Regions from separate parts of the Homo sapiens genome. Here regions 2, 3, 4 and 5 are each linked to region 1. The links are contacts of gene promoters, found by promoter capture Hi-C in blood cells and fetal thymus (Javierre and others, 2016). All regions are on one chromosome and are shown on one strand. The core of a region is centred on a gene start or on the middle of the fragment in contact, and the rest is flanking DNA. Distances in the headings are between cores, read along the strand shown.

The links. Contacts are between HindIII fragments. The CHiCAGO score rates a contact against its expected background, and 5 or more counts as called.
Region 2: a contact is called between a fragment that was not itself captured here and the fragment with the promoter of RBBP6 in region 1, in 1 of 17 cell types (neutrophils). The highest score is 5.7, in neutrophils.
Region 3: the fragment with the promoter of LCMT1 here is called in contact with the fragment with the promoter of RBBP6 in region 1 in 5 of 17 cell types (naive CD4 T cells, total CD4 T cells, monocytes and 2 more); the score reaches 6.5 in naive CD4 T cells.
Region 4: the fragment with the promoter of PRKCB here is called in contact with the fragment with the promoter of RBBP6 in region 1 in 1 of 17 cell types (M1 macrophages); the score reaches 5.1 in M1 macrophages.
Region 5: a contact is called between a fragment that was not itself captured here and the fragment with the promoter of RBBP6 in region 1, in 1 of 17 cell types (neutrophils). The highest score is 5.1, in neutrophils.

The regions. Positions count from the first base shown.
Region 1 is chr16:24,538,296-24,540,995 of GRCh38, forward strand. It overlaps RBBP6 (RB binding protein 6, ubiquitin ligase), which reads left to right and starts at 1,271. Exons shown (of 18, transcript NM_006910.5): 1 at 1,271-2,497. The coding sequence starts at 2,332. RefSeq lists enhancers at 934-1,928, 1,929-2,700 and silencers at 1,218-1,267, 1,538-1,717. The HindIII fragment of the contact is 3,955 bases long and covers 1-2,700 here.
Region 2 is chr16:23,799,573-23,802,340 of GRCh38, forward strand. No RefSeq gene overlaps it. Among named protein-coding and RNA genes, the nearest start is that of PRKCB, 35 kb to the right of the region's middle. The HindIII fragment of the contact is 3,056 bases long and covers 1-2,768 here.
Region 3 is chr16:25,110,448-25,113,147 of GRCh38, forward strand. It overlaps LCMT1 (leucine carboxyl methyltransferase 1), which reads left to right and starts at 1,295. Exons shown (of 11, transcript NM_016309.3): 1 at 1,295-1,549. The coding sequence starts at 1,437. It overlaps LCMT1-AS1 (LCMT1 antisense RNA 1), which reads right to left and starts at 1,108. Exons shown (of 3, transcript NR_120306.1): 1 at 949-1,108. RefSeq lists enhancers at 718-1,245, 1,023-1,352, 1,443-1,602. The HindIII fragment of the contact is 2,890 bases long and covers 1-2,112 here.
Region 4 is chr16:23,834,733-23,837,432 of GRCh38, forward strand. PRKCB (protein kinase C beta) reads left to right here and starts at 1,251. Exons shown (of 17, transcript NM_002738.7): 1 at 1,251-1,616; 2 at 2,643-2,674. The coding sequence starts at 1,444. RefSeq lists silencers at 747-1,386, 1,417-1,496, 1,827-1,906 and enhancers at 860-1,407, 1,408-1,953, 2,217-2,356. The HindIII fragment of the contact is 10,190 bases long and covers 1-2,700 here.
Region 5 is chr16:25,063,259-25,065,958 of GRCh38, forward strand. No RefSeq gene overlaps it. Among named protein-coding and RNA genes, the nearest start is that of LINC02175, 2.3 kb to the right of the region's middle. The HindIII fragment of the contact is 7,036 bases long and covers 1-2,700 here.

The sequences.
Region 1 (2,700 bases), core at 21-2,520:
TGGCCTTAGGAAGGCTTTTCTGGCAGGATGGTGATTAATTTTAAATCAAGTTCAGTAAGAATTTGGAGTGTGCTTGCAGGAAGTCCCTGGGAAACTCTGCTACTTCTCGGCTATAGGATCTTATTCTCAGTTGCCTAAATTCACTGAGCCTAGCCTGTAAAATTCAGAGAGGATGAGGAACATGGATTGTAAACGATAATAACTATCGTTTATGAATGTAATTTTATTATATTATGATTTTTTCTGAATGTAATAACGTCCCCATGCCCAAAGGAAAAAAAAAATTCCAATCTACTGAGGGGGTTCTTGTCACTGTTCCTGGCATTTGCGCTTAGGAATGGAATCGGGACCCTGCCACTGAGCAGGCATCCCCTTCTGCAAATTCAGAAAGTACATGATTGCTAGCTTCAGTTCCATCATCTATAAATCGGAAATAATGTCATGTTGACCACGTAGGGTTTTTGTTGTTAAATTGACATTTATTGAGCTACAGCTATTAATATTTCGGTGCATTGAGCCACGTCAATGCACCGGCATGGTCTTAGACTATGGATTTATGTGCATTTATTTAATCCAAGTAAACCAAGTACTATTTTTAATGGCATTTTACAGCCAAGGAGACCCAGGCACAGAGGGGTTAAATCTAGAGCCCCCACAGCCAGGGATCCAACCCAGACAACGTGGCTGCTGAGCCTGGCAATGTTGTTATGCGATCAGCCCTGTGCCTAGCACATAGTAAGAGCTCAATAAATCTGTATGGTGCTGGTGGCTGTTATCAGTTCTTGGCAGCGGCTGCTCCACGATTTCCACTTGTCAAGAGTATAGGGTAGCCAGTTTATTGGAAGCAGCAGCTAGGGAGCGCTTGCATAGCAACCATAGTTTTCTGCGTAGCAACCATAATGCTCACTTAAATTGGGAGGCTTAGAGGAGCTGACGGGGCCTGTGGGGAAGGGGGAGTTAGCCGGCCACCCCTAGGCAAGCCACTTTGCAGTGGAAACTGCACGCAGCCCCTGCAAGGCGAGCTCTCCCCACCGAGCCTCCCTGTGAGCCGGTCCTCCTGACGCGCAACCCCCCTCCCTTTTGAAGCAGATGGTTCTTCCCGTTGTCCCTGCTCTTTCAGTTTCCGCGCTTTGGAGTCACAAAGCGCGGGGTCACGTGGGCGGGCCGTGCGCTTTGTGACGTCAGCCGCCCCGCCTCTCGGCCCGCCTATCCGCGCACGCCAGCCCCGCCTCGCGCGCGCCGCCCGTGCAATCCCTGCTTAAGAGACCCCGCAGTGGGGCGCTCGTCCGAAGCCAGGCCGCGTCCGCCATAGTACCTGGCTTGGAGGTGTCGCCGCCGCTCGGTGAGAGCCCCCGAGCGGCAGGGGGCCAACACAAAAAGGGAGCCGGAGAAGCCCTAGCCGCTGCCCAGCAGCTTGCGGGCGTGTTCTCGCGGTTCCGGGCCTCAAGGCGACGGAAACGAAAGGCGAGCGAAGCGCGGAGGATCCGGCGAGAAGAAGCGTCAGGGAGCCTCGGCGGTGTCCCCGGGGTCCGCCGAAGCCACCCGGCCGCCGGCTGGGGCCCGGGGTGGTGAGGAAGTGCTCCGAGGCCTCGCCGAGGCCTAGCGCCGGCTTTGTGTCCGAGGCGGCGGCGGCGGCGGGGGGAGGCGGAGCCGGGGGCGGCCTGCGGGAAGGCCTCTCCTCCGCCGACCGCGCGTTTTCGGCCTAGGCCGTGGGGCCGCTCGTGGCCTCCGGGGAGCAGGCGCCAGGGGTTTGTGTGCGGTGGGGGCCTGGGCCTGGGCCTGGGGAAGCTGACGCCGGTCGTCCGGAAGCCAGGAGGAGGCGTGAGGCCGCTCGTGGACTCCGGGCCTAGGCCCTCTCCCCTCAACCTTCTCCCGGGGCCTGGGTCACCCCAATCCACGGAGAGAGAGACCCGCCGGGAGGTGCGGCCGCGCTATGGACCCCTGACCCCGTGGGGTCGCTCGGACTCTTAACGTGTGGACTGACCGCTACTGACTGCACCGCCAATCCCCCCGTCTCTGCCGGCCCCTTAGCATGAGCGAGGGGGACCCAGCCGGGTGACATTGTGCCCGTTGGCGGATTCTCGATTTCCCCTCTTCCCCGTCCTCGTCCTCCTCCTCCCCCATGAAGTGATTCTGAGTATCGGGGGGTCTCTGGATTATTGTTCTGACGAACCCCTGCTTGTGGTTGGGGGGTATTTAATCTGAGGCCTTAGGGTCCTTCGGTGTCTTTGAGTGTTTTGTGTGTACATATTTTGCTCTTAAAGTTTATAAATATACGTATATTGAGAGTGTCCACGTCTCCTCGCTGAACCTTAGGAATCCCTTGGCACCATGTCCTGTGTGCATTATAAATTTTCCTCTAAACTCAACTATGATACCGTCACCTTTGATGGGCTCCACATCTCCCTCTGCGACTTAAAGAAGCAGATTATGGGGAGAGAGAAGCTGAAAGCTGCCGACTGCGACCTGCAGATCACCAATGCGCAGACGAAAGAAGGTAAGGGCCGCTTGGTCTTAAGATATTTGGTGGCTGGAGAGAGATACTAGCTAGAAGGTGCCTGGCAGGAAGCTAACCGCCATTATGTCTCTAGTGGGGACTGTTCGTTCTAGTACTTTGGATACAACTTTCATTGATAGCCAAGGTTTGCAGCAGTTGGCCTTGGAGTTTCACTGGTTTATTTTATTTCTGCATACTTGGGT
Region 2 (2,768 bases), core at 100-2,599, 740 kb before region 1:
GGTTGTTTCCAGTTTCTCTCTACTAAAATTGATGTTTCAGTGAAAATTGCCATGAGAATGCCCACCGTCACCACTCACCAAGCACTTATTGTGCTGCGTGGCTTCCATTCCACATTTATTTCATCCTCACAACAACCCAATGAGGCAGACGTTATTGTGGTTTATTTCCTTTTCTTTTTATTAAATTATGAAAATAAAATGTGTCTCTGTAAAAGCAATTCAAGCAGAACCAAAGGGGCCTAAGGGGAAAGACCAAGCCCTTCCTCCCCTTTCCCTCCAATCTCACCGCTGCAATTCCCCAGAGATAACACTCATACATTTCTTGTATACCCTTCCAGAAATTTTTTGTCCATATCCAAACACATTGGGAAATGGACTCTGTACTGGCATTTCATGGCATGTATTTTACTCTGAAACTTCCTATTAGTCTGAGTGACATATCTCAAATGTCTTTTTTTTTTTTTTTTTTTTTTTTTTGAGACGGAGTCTCGTTCTGTCTTCCAGGCTGGAGTGCAGTGGTGCAATCTTGGCTCACTGCAACCTCCGCCTCCTGGGCTCAAGCGGTTCTCATGCCTCAGCCTCCCAAGTAGCTGGGACTACAGGTGTGTACCACGGCACCCTGCTAATTTTTGTATTTTTAGTAGAGACTGGCTTTTGCCATGTTGACCAGGCTGGTCTCAAACTCCTGACCTCATGATCTGCCTGCATTGGCCTCCCAAAGTGCTGGGATTACAGGTATGAGCCACCGTGCCTGGCCTCAAATGTCTTTCTATGTCAGAAAATTTCAATCCTATGAGCTGGCTATAATTATTTTCATTTTACACTTGACTAAATGAAGGCTTAGGAGGTGAAAGACTATGCTGTTGAATTGCATTGTGTGCCCAGAAAAAGATATGTTGATGTCCTTCTTATCCTCCAGTACCCCAGATGTGAGCTTAATTTGGAAATAGAGTCATTGAGGTAATTAGTTAAGATGAGGCTGTACAGGAGTAAGGTGGGCCATAATCCAATACAACTGGTGTGCTTATAAAAAGGGGCGATGTGGACACAAAATAGACAGGCATAGGAGGAAGATGTCATAAGAGACACAGAAAGAAGGCCATGTGAAGATGGAAGATTGGAGTGATACATCTGCAGCCATGGAGAGATTGCTGGAAACCACCAGAAACTGGGAAGAAGCAAAGGAGTCCCCTGCAGGTTTCAGAGAAGGCATGGCCTGGCCGACACCTTGATTTCAGATTTCTTGCCTCCAAAACTGAAACATACTTTATTATTTATTTATTTATTTATTTTGTAGAGATAGGGTCTTGCTATGTTGCCCAGGCTGGTCTTGAATTCCTGGGCTCAAGTGATCCTCCTGCCTCCAATTCCCAAAGCACTGGGATTACAGGTGTGAGCCACTGTGCCTAGCTCTTTTTTTTTTTTTTGAAATGGGGTCTCCCTCTGTCGCCCAGGCTGGAGTGCAGTGGTGCAATCTCAGCCCACTGCCACCTCTGCCTCCTGGGCTCAAGCGATTCTCCTGCCTCAGCCTCTCAAGTAGCTGAGATTCCAGGTGCCCTCCACGACGCCTGGCTAATTTTTGTATTTTTAGTAGAGATCAAGTTTCTCCACATTGGCCAGGCTGGTTTTGAACTCCCGATCTCAAGTGATTGGCCTGCTTTGGCCTCCCAAAGTACTGGGATTACAGGCGTGAACCACAGCGACCGACTGGCTCAGCTCATTTTTTAAAAACCACCCAGTTTGTGTGACTTTGTTAAGGCAGCCCTAAGAAACCCAAACACATGTCAAAGTTTCAAAACTCGTAGGTAGCAGAGCTGGAATTTGAACTCAGGTAGGTGTGACCCTAAGGCCAATGCATTTAAACGAACAGGATCTATCTATTTTCTTTTTTGAGCGAACCCCTGTATATAGTGCTTAGCCTGTGCCAGGCTCTAGGCTAAGCATTGGCATGTATCTCTCTGAAACTGGCATTTCGCCTTCTGGGCAGTGCAGTAATTTCCTCCTTGAGGTTGTCTGGTGGCTTCCACCAGGGGGCAGACCTGGGCTTTCGTGCACAGGCAGGAAAATAACACACAAGGCAGGAGGTGGACTTTTCCCTTCCCTTCCCTTCCCTTCCCTTCCCTTCCCTTCCCTTCCCTTCCCTCCCCTCCCCTCCCCTCCCCTCCCCTCCCCTCCCCTCCCCTCCCGTCTTCCCTCCCCTCCCCTCCCCCCCCCTTCCCTTCCCTTCCCTTCTTTCCTTCTTTCCTTTCTCTCTTTCTCTCTTTCTATCTTTCTTTCTTTCTTTCTGACGGAGTCTTGCTCTGTCCCCCAGGCTAGAGTGCAGTGGCGCTATCTTGGCTCACTGCAACCTCGGTCTCCTGGGTTAAAGCGATTCTCCTGCCTCAGCCTCCCAAGCAGCTGGGATTACAGGCGTCTGCCACCACACGTGGCTAATTTTTGTCTTTTTAGTAGAGACGGGATTTCACCATGTTGGCCAGGCTGGTCTCGAACTCCTGACCTCATGATCCACCCACCTCGGCCTCCCAAAGTGTTGGGATTACAGGTGTGAGCCACTGTGCCTGGCCAGGAGGTGGACTTTCTGGCAGTTCCCTCTGTAGAGATTGTCTGTAGGTTTGGTCTACCAAAGCAAAGACCACATTAAAAACAAAAAAACAAAAAACAAAAAACAAAAAAAAAAAAAAAAAAAAAAGAGAGAGAGAGAGGATCGACCCAGACGATTGAGTGCAAATAAACTTCCATGTTTTCTGAGGGAGAGAGAGCCAAACACC
Region 3 (2,700 bases), core at 45-2,544, 570 kb after region 1:
TCACCAGCAAGAAACCAGGCGACTTCCCCAGTACATCTTGAATTTATACATATATTTTGTACTAGATTTAGTACAAAATAAATCCAAAACATCTTGAATATGCCTCATAATGAAACAGACACACGTGAACCCACTCCCACGTGAGAAACTGAGGATGTGTCTATGTGCTCCTTCCCTGCCTCTCCCTCCCCCTCTTGTGTGCTACCCTCCCGGCTCCCTAAAGATCACCAATATCCTGATTCTTTTTTATTTTTTTTTCTCATGTCTTGCCTTCTCTGTACAGTATTTTACCATATATGTACGTTTCTCTAAACAACATTAGTTTTACTTGGTTTGAACTTTACAAAAGTGTTGTTAGACTTCCTTCTTTCACTGAACATCGTGTTTCTGAGATTCAGCCATTGATGCTGCTACCTGGTAGCTCTAGTTCATTTATGATCGCTGCTACATGGCTTCCTATTGTATTACTTTTCCACACACTACTTCCCTCACTACATTTCTTTTCTTTCTTTCTTTTATTTATTTGTTTATTTATTTTTTTGAGACGGAGTCTCGCTCTGTCGCTCAGGACGGAATGCAGTGGCGCCACATGGGCTTACTGCAACCTCCGCCTCCCGGGTTCAAGCGATTCTCCTGCCTCAGCCTCCTGAGTAGCCAGGACTAAGGCGGCCGCCACCACGCCCGGCTAATTTTTGTACTTTTAGTAACAACGGTGTTTCACCATGTTGGCCAGGCTGGTCTCGAACTCCTGACCTCAGGTGATCGGCCCGCCTCGGCTTCCCACAGTGGTGGGATTACAGGAGTGAGCCACTACGCCCGCCCCCCTCACTACATTTCGAAGGCAATTTTGGGGGCAAAGCCCTCAGCACAGTCGCTGGCAGAGTCAGCACACAACAAAATTTTGTAAAATTGAATGACACTGAGCCCGGACTGAATGTAACAACTTACACATGTTGCTTCTGGCTGGATTCTCTGCCCTTTGCCCGAACGCTGAGGATTCTGCTAGCTGTTCCGCCCTGAGTTAATTATAGCTATAAAATTTCGCGACCAGCAAGCAGAAACCGGGCGACTTCTCCAGACACCTAAGACTACGCTTCCCAGAAAGGATTGCGATACTCTCCTACTGTTTAGTTTCTTTTTCCTATCGTCAAATTTCCGGGTTATGTGGGCGGTGCCAAAATAATTATCCAATGAGCAACTTCGTAGGCTGAGCGGGCAGGAGAATTGCTCAATGAGCGACTCGGAAGAGGAGCCAATAAGCGGAGAGGTTGCTGGGGTAGCCGGCGTGGGCGGCGTCACTGAGCCGCGCCAGCTGAGCCAGGTAGGGCCCTACCCTCTTCTGTTGCTTTCTCCCTGTGGCTCGCGCCGTCCCCCGCCGCCCGTCGACCCCGCTTCCATGTCCCTGGCGGACACAGCTCCCAGGAACCTCCACGCCCATGGCCACTAGGCAGAGGGAATCCTCTATCACCTCCTGCTGTTCCACCTCGAGCTGCGACGCAGACGACGAGGGCGTGCGCGGCACCTGCGAAGATGCTTCCCTGTGCAAGAGGTGCCTGTCGGGCGCGGGGTTCGGGGCCGGCATCTGGGGCGCGGGCCTAGGTGGGAGGTGGGCCTGCATCTGAAGAATACGCTCAAGGCTGGCAGGGATGCAGCCCCCGCCTCGCACGACCCTCGCTTCCCACCTGTGAAGTGCACGGAGCAGGGCTTCATTTATTTAACGAATCGTTTCTGAGCTTTTGCTGTGAGCCAGGCAGGGGGCCAGCCTGGGTATCGTCGATGGGAGCAGGCCCCTGAGCCAGACAGACGAGGCCTTGGGCTTCTTGGAGCTAAACGCTGCTGGAAAGACAGACATGAAGCAAATAGTAGCTCCAGCCTCGATGGGTTACGAGGATGAGAGGTGTAGGTTCTCTCTCTTTTGTAGGTTGCATTCTTTAGGGGGTTGGTGTGATCCCTGTTGTGCACCTGAAACTCAGGATGACGAGGGGAAATAACCCACCCAGAGCCAAGTAATATCTCTTTGCAGAGCCAGTACCGCACTAAGTCTCCACTGTTAAGGGTGTGGTGGTGGGGATGGGGGCGTAGCCAGCAGAGGTACGTGTCAGAGAAAGAGAAAGCTTGAGGCTTGAATGTCCACCATTTATTCTTTCATTCAACAAAATTTTTTGAGACCTTACTTTGTGCCAGGCCTTTACTTTGCAGTGGTTAGTAGGAATTCGATGGTGGAAATACACCAAGAACAAGACAGACATGGTGTCAGACATACTGGAACTCACAGCTTTGTTGGAAAAGAGAGACAGGAAGCAAATAATTACCTATGAAATATATAATTATGATTTTTTTGTGTTGAGTGCTGACAAATACGGCAGTGCCATTAGAGTTTGTAATTTTGTCAGTGATGTTTAAGGTGAGAAGAGTTTGGGCGCGGTGGTTCACGCCTGTAATCCCAGCACTTTGGGAGGCCGAGGTGGGCAGATCACGAGGTCAGGAGTTCGAGACCATCCTGGCCAACATGGTGAAACCCCATCTCTACTAAAAATACAAATATTAGCTGGGTGTGGTGGCGGGCGCCTGTAATCCCAGCTACTCGGGAGGCTGAGGCCGGAGAATCATTTGAACCCGGGAGGCAGAGGTTGCAGTGAGCCAAGATCACGCTATTGCACTCCAACCTGGATGAGAGTGCGAGACTATGTCTCAAAAAAA
Region 4 (2,700 bases), core at 1-2,500, 700 kb before region 1:
ATTCACTTGTTCATCCATGCCCTCACTCAATCAACCAATATTTACTGGGGTCTTGGGAGGTGTCAGGCACTGAGCTTGGTGCTGGGCGACATGGTGGTGAACAGCCCCCCTGCTCTCACAGAGCCTAGGTCTGGTGAAGGAGCTCACAGCCTAATGAAGCTCTGCGTTCCCAGAGTGGGGGACATGGTGGCAGTGGGTATCTTTAGGCCTTGTGCATGAACAGGGCGCTAAATAACATTGAATTACACATTGTAGACAATTATTACCCTTTCAGTTACCTTCAGATCACATCAAGGAGAGAGTCCTGGTTGGATAGTAATGTCTTTAACACCCCTCTAGCATTTATTAATTTCCTCTCTTAACAAATAAAAGATGACTTCAGTCGAAGATGCTTAGGACAGATGACGGCACCTGGAGATATTTTAATAATGTAGATACCTCTTGCTGTTCAAACTCAGACCAAAAGAGATAGGCTTTTTTTCCCCCAGAGGGTGCACAAATACGACCAGAATTTGTGAAGACGAGTCAGAAATGAATGAAATTTGGAAAAATATTGATCTACTGAAATCCTTCCTCCCCACACTATTAGCCCTATGTTACAGTTGGGGAAACGGAGTCGTTTTGCAGAGGGGATGGACAGAAGGTAGGGAGTTCTCTTCCAAACGTGCAGGAGGCAAGCAAAGCCAAGAATCTTCTCTGTGGTGGAGTTAGAGACATATAAAATAAAGATCGCTCCTCCCCTACCTCTGCAGAACGTGTGTGTGTATGTGTGTGTAAGTGTGTGCGGCCACAAGCCTTTCCGAATGAGTGACAGCGGGAGCCCATCCCTCCAGGAGACGCGTGCAGAATGACCAATGGGATGGATGGGGGTGGATGGGTACCAGTCTCCGCAGAGGCCGGGGTGGAATTCGCTGCGCCCCACCCCTTCCACCCGCTCCCCTTCGCCCCGTAGGTCTTTCCACTCTCGCTCCTCCCCTGGGCACATCTCCTGAACGCAGCCCCGGGGGCCGAGGACGGGGTGGGGTGGGGGGCGAGGCTCGGGTCCGACGACCCCGGGCTGCGGTCCCGGCGCTGCAGAGCTGCGGCTGTGCACGCTTAGCCGCGAGGCCCGCGGTAGCCCGGGCGCCGATATGTAAAGCAGCTGGCAGCGCTGGGCGGGGCCTGGGCGCGATGCAAATGAGGAGGGCGGGGCTGGCCCGGGGCTCCGCCTCCCTCCCCCGCAGCTGGGGCCAGCGGTGCCAAGCGCAGCTGGACGAGCGGCAGCAGCTGGGCGAGTGACAGCCCCGGCTCCGCGCGCCGCGGCCGCCAGAGCCGGCGCAGGGGAAGCGCCCGCGGCCCCGGGTGCAGCAGCGGCCGCCGCCTCCCGCGCCTCCCCGGCCCGCAGCCCGCGGTCCCGCGGCCCCGGGGCCGGCACCTCTCGGGCTCCGGCTCCCCGCGCGCAAGATGGCTGACCCGGCTGCGGGGCCGCCGCCGAGCGAGGGCGAGGAGAGCACCGTGCGCTTCGCCCGCAAAGGCGCCCTCCGGCAGAAGAACGTGCATGAGGTCAAGAACCACAAATTCACCGCCCGCTTCTTCAAGCAGCCCACCTTCTGCAGCCACTGCACCGACTTCATCTGGTGAGCGCGCGCGCGCAGGGCACCTTCCCGGGCCCCCGAGGGCAGCGCCGCGCCAGGGACCCCCTCTCCGCGCCCTCTGCGCCCTCCGCGCCCTCCGCACCCTGGGACCCCGCGTCTCCGGACTCCCGGCTCCGGACCCTGCTGCCCGGGACTCCCGGATGGACAGTCCTGCCGTTGCCCTGTCCCCACCCTGGTCCCAGACGGGCCGCCGCGGGGCGCCTCCTGCCCTCTCCTGCTCTCAGGCGCCTCTAGAGCGCCCAGGGGCGGCGTCGCGGGAGCCTTTGCTCCACCTGACTAGGAGCGCGCGGGGTCTGTGCCTGCCCTGGAGGGCAGCGCCTCGGGTGCTCTCCGACCCGGGGTTCCCTATCTCTCCGCCTGCTTCCGGGCGCGAGGAGCCCTCGCCCCCCACCCCTTGTTTCCGGGGGGGGCGGCGCCCTGGGTGTCCTTCTCTATCTCCCTGCGGGCATGGGACATCCTTTCTCACTCCTCTGTGCCTCCGGGCAGCGCCCTGTGTTATCTCCCATTGCCCCTCCCCGAGGGCCTGGGTTCCCCTTTCCACTCCTCGGTCACATCACTGCGGGCCCCTTTCTTCCCCAGTCCCTCCAGTAGTGGGGCATCCTTTCCTCCTTCCCAGTCCCCCTCCCAGAGGACACCACCGCCGCGGGGTCACTCTCGCCCTCCCTCTGAATGCGTCTTTATCTCTTCTCTTTTCCCGAGGGTGCTCGGGGCATCTATGGGTACATCTGTCGCCTGCCTTCAGCCCCTACCCCGACGGAAACGCTCCCCACTATCCCGCCACCTGGTGGTCGCAGCCTCCTCTCTTCTGCAGGAGTGAAGGCAGATGGGGGTTACAGCCGAGCTCCCACCTACCCCCACAAAGGCGGAAGACTCTTGGGCACCCGCCTGTGGCTGGGAGTTTGCACCTGGGGTACAGAGGCAGGGAGGAAGGCGGGTGACTCTGTGGGTAACTAGCTGGAGGCTGGGCCCCCCGGGCTGCCTGACATACACCTCCTTCTGCTTTTGCAGGGGCTTCGGGAAGCAGGGATTCCAGTGCCAAGGTAGGCTCTGGGGCTTTGGGGATGCT
Region 5 (2,700 bases), core at 162-2,661, 530 kb after region 1:
TGAGCGAGGACAGCAGGTGCAGGGGCTGTGGGTGTGGGAAAGAAAAGGAGGCTTCCCCTTTGTCACCAAGCCTTCTCCCACGCAGCTGCTGGGGATTTTTCTGAAATGCAAACCCAGGTCATGTCAGTTCCTCACTTCAAATCCCTCAGGATAAAACTTGTACTCAAAAAATAAATAAGATAATTTCACCTATTGCTTAACATAGAAAATGGGAGCCCTCAGAATGAGACTCCCTTAACTTCCCCCAAGAAACTTAACCATCCTTTTTCACTGTTACAGTTGTGAATGTCCTCCAGTAACGACCACCAGAAACACTCTGTAGTCAAGCAAGTTTGGTTTATTACTTGTTGCAAGGAGGGAAGACTCACACCATGAGGAACATATCAGTAAGAGGATGTTAGATCTTTATAATTTGGGCTTTGGCTGGGTGATTTGGGGGAGCTTCCACGATTCACTGTGTGAAAGCCTGTCCAGAAATCTCTCCTGCTACCCCTCCTGACCCTATATCAGGTTCACCTAACATGCAGTTCTACTGCAGACTCCATGCCTCTGCTCACGCTGTTTTCTTCTGCCGGGCAAACCCTTATCGATCTCTTTAAGGCTCACCTCCTCCACTGTGAAAAACAGAAAAGCAAAACTGACTTCTAGGAGCTTGCCTGGTGCTGTGAGCCAGGCCGTATGTTTTTGGAAGCTGGCTGGTGCCCACAACAAGGCCATGTTGTTCTCCTATTGGACATAAACAATCATGCAGACCACTCACACAAGGACACTCTGCAGTGGTGATGATAGGAGATGACACGAGACCACGTCATCATTCTGTGTAAGGACAAAAGCAAGGTCACTGTGCCACCCACAGAATACCAGACATTCCCTTCTCCCAGCTGATAGGAGTGACTGTGGCTTCTTTACACATTGTAGCTTTAGCCCTACTCCAGCCAAACCTCTTTCTAGAAAAGATACCGCTACCGGATGATAGAATTTTCCTACCTCCTATCAGCACTCGATCCAGAGCAAACCCCTGGACCCTCCCCCAAATCACCCAGCCAAAGCCCAGATCCTAAAGGTCTAACATCCTCTTACTGATAGGCTCCTCATGGTGTGAGTCTTCCCTCCTTGCAACAAGTAATAAACCCAACTTGCTTAACTACAAAGTGTTTCATGTGGTCTTTACTGGAGGACATTCACAACTGTAAGAGTAAAAAAGGATGGTTAAGTTTCTTGGGGAAGTTAAGGGAGTCTCATTCTGAGGGCTCCCATTTTCTATGTTAAGCAATAGGTGAAATTATCTTCTTTCTTTATTTTTTGAGATGAGGTCTCACTCTGTCACCCAGGCTGGAGCCCAGCAGCGTGAATATGGCTCAATGCAGCCTTGACCTCCTAGCCTCAAGTGGTCCTCCCACCTCAGCCTCCCATGGAACTGGGACCACAGGCTCTCATCACCATACCTGGCTAATTTATATATTTTTTTTGTAGAGATAGGGCCTTACCATCTTACCCAGGCTGGTCTCGAACCTCTGGCTCAAGCAATCCTCCCATCTTGGCCTCCCAAAGTGCTGGGATTACAGGCGTGAACCACTATGCCACAGTTGAGTTTAGAATGTTTATTTAAAATCTTGTGACACTGAACTCAATGACTAGTTCTCGGAAAACTTACTTTTTAATAGTGTATTGTGGTGTAAGGCCTGAAATTAGGATTCATATCAAATTCTGTCTTTACATCCATTTAAATCAAGAGGGCCTCAAATGGCTGAACTCCAAGCCTCGCTCCCTGTCTGCTTCCGCAGATGAAATTCTCTGGCTAAACACTCTCCTTATTTTAGGGATCAGACACAGAGCCTGCTTATCCCCAAACAGTAGGCTTCAGTTCCCTGCCAGCTCAAGGACGAATTATTCAGACAAGCCAGTCACACCCTCCCGTGGGAACCAGGGCTCACTCTGCACTTTTGTTACTACAAAGCCTGCCTCCAGCAGCCCCTCCTTGTTACCGTGTTCCGGAGTGTAGCCTCCACATTGCCCTGCATAGTGTGCAGGGTCCTTCTCCCCTGGACTGGAGTATCTGTGACCAGTCAGCTGCTGTTGATTGCATCCGTCCTGCATCAAGTGTTGTGTGTTCGGCCATCCCCGTATCTCTGGGGGTGGGGACAGGGGCGGGGGCAGGAGCGTGGGGGGAAGGAATCCCTCTTTCATCAATGGAGTAAAGAGTGTGAATAAAACGATTGGCATCACAAACAGTGTGGCCCATCCTTGATTGAGGACCCCTGGTTAGCTTTAACTAGCTGCTCCTTTACTAAGTAGCTGGTTTTGTTTGTTTGTTTATTTATTTATTTAGAGACGGAGTCTTGCTCTGTCTCCCGGGCTGGAGTGCAGTGGCGCGATCTCAGCTCACTGCAACCTCCTCCTCCCGGGTTCAAGCGATTCTCCTGCCCCAGCCTCCCAAGTAGCTAGGACTACAGGCGCCCACCACCACACCAGGCTAATTTTTGTATTTTTAGTAGAGACGGGGTTTCACCATACTGGCCAGGTTGGTCTTGAACTCCTAGACCTTGTGATCCACCCACTTCAGCCTCCCAAAGTGCTGGGATTACAGGAGTGAGCCACCGTGCCCGGCCTAAGTAGCTGGTTTTATAAGGCGGCCAGGACTATTGAGAACATCACTGCCAGTTGCTGGCCAGCTTGCCCTTCAGCTAATGAGTTTTGTTA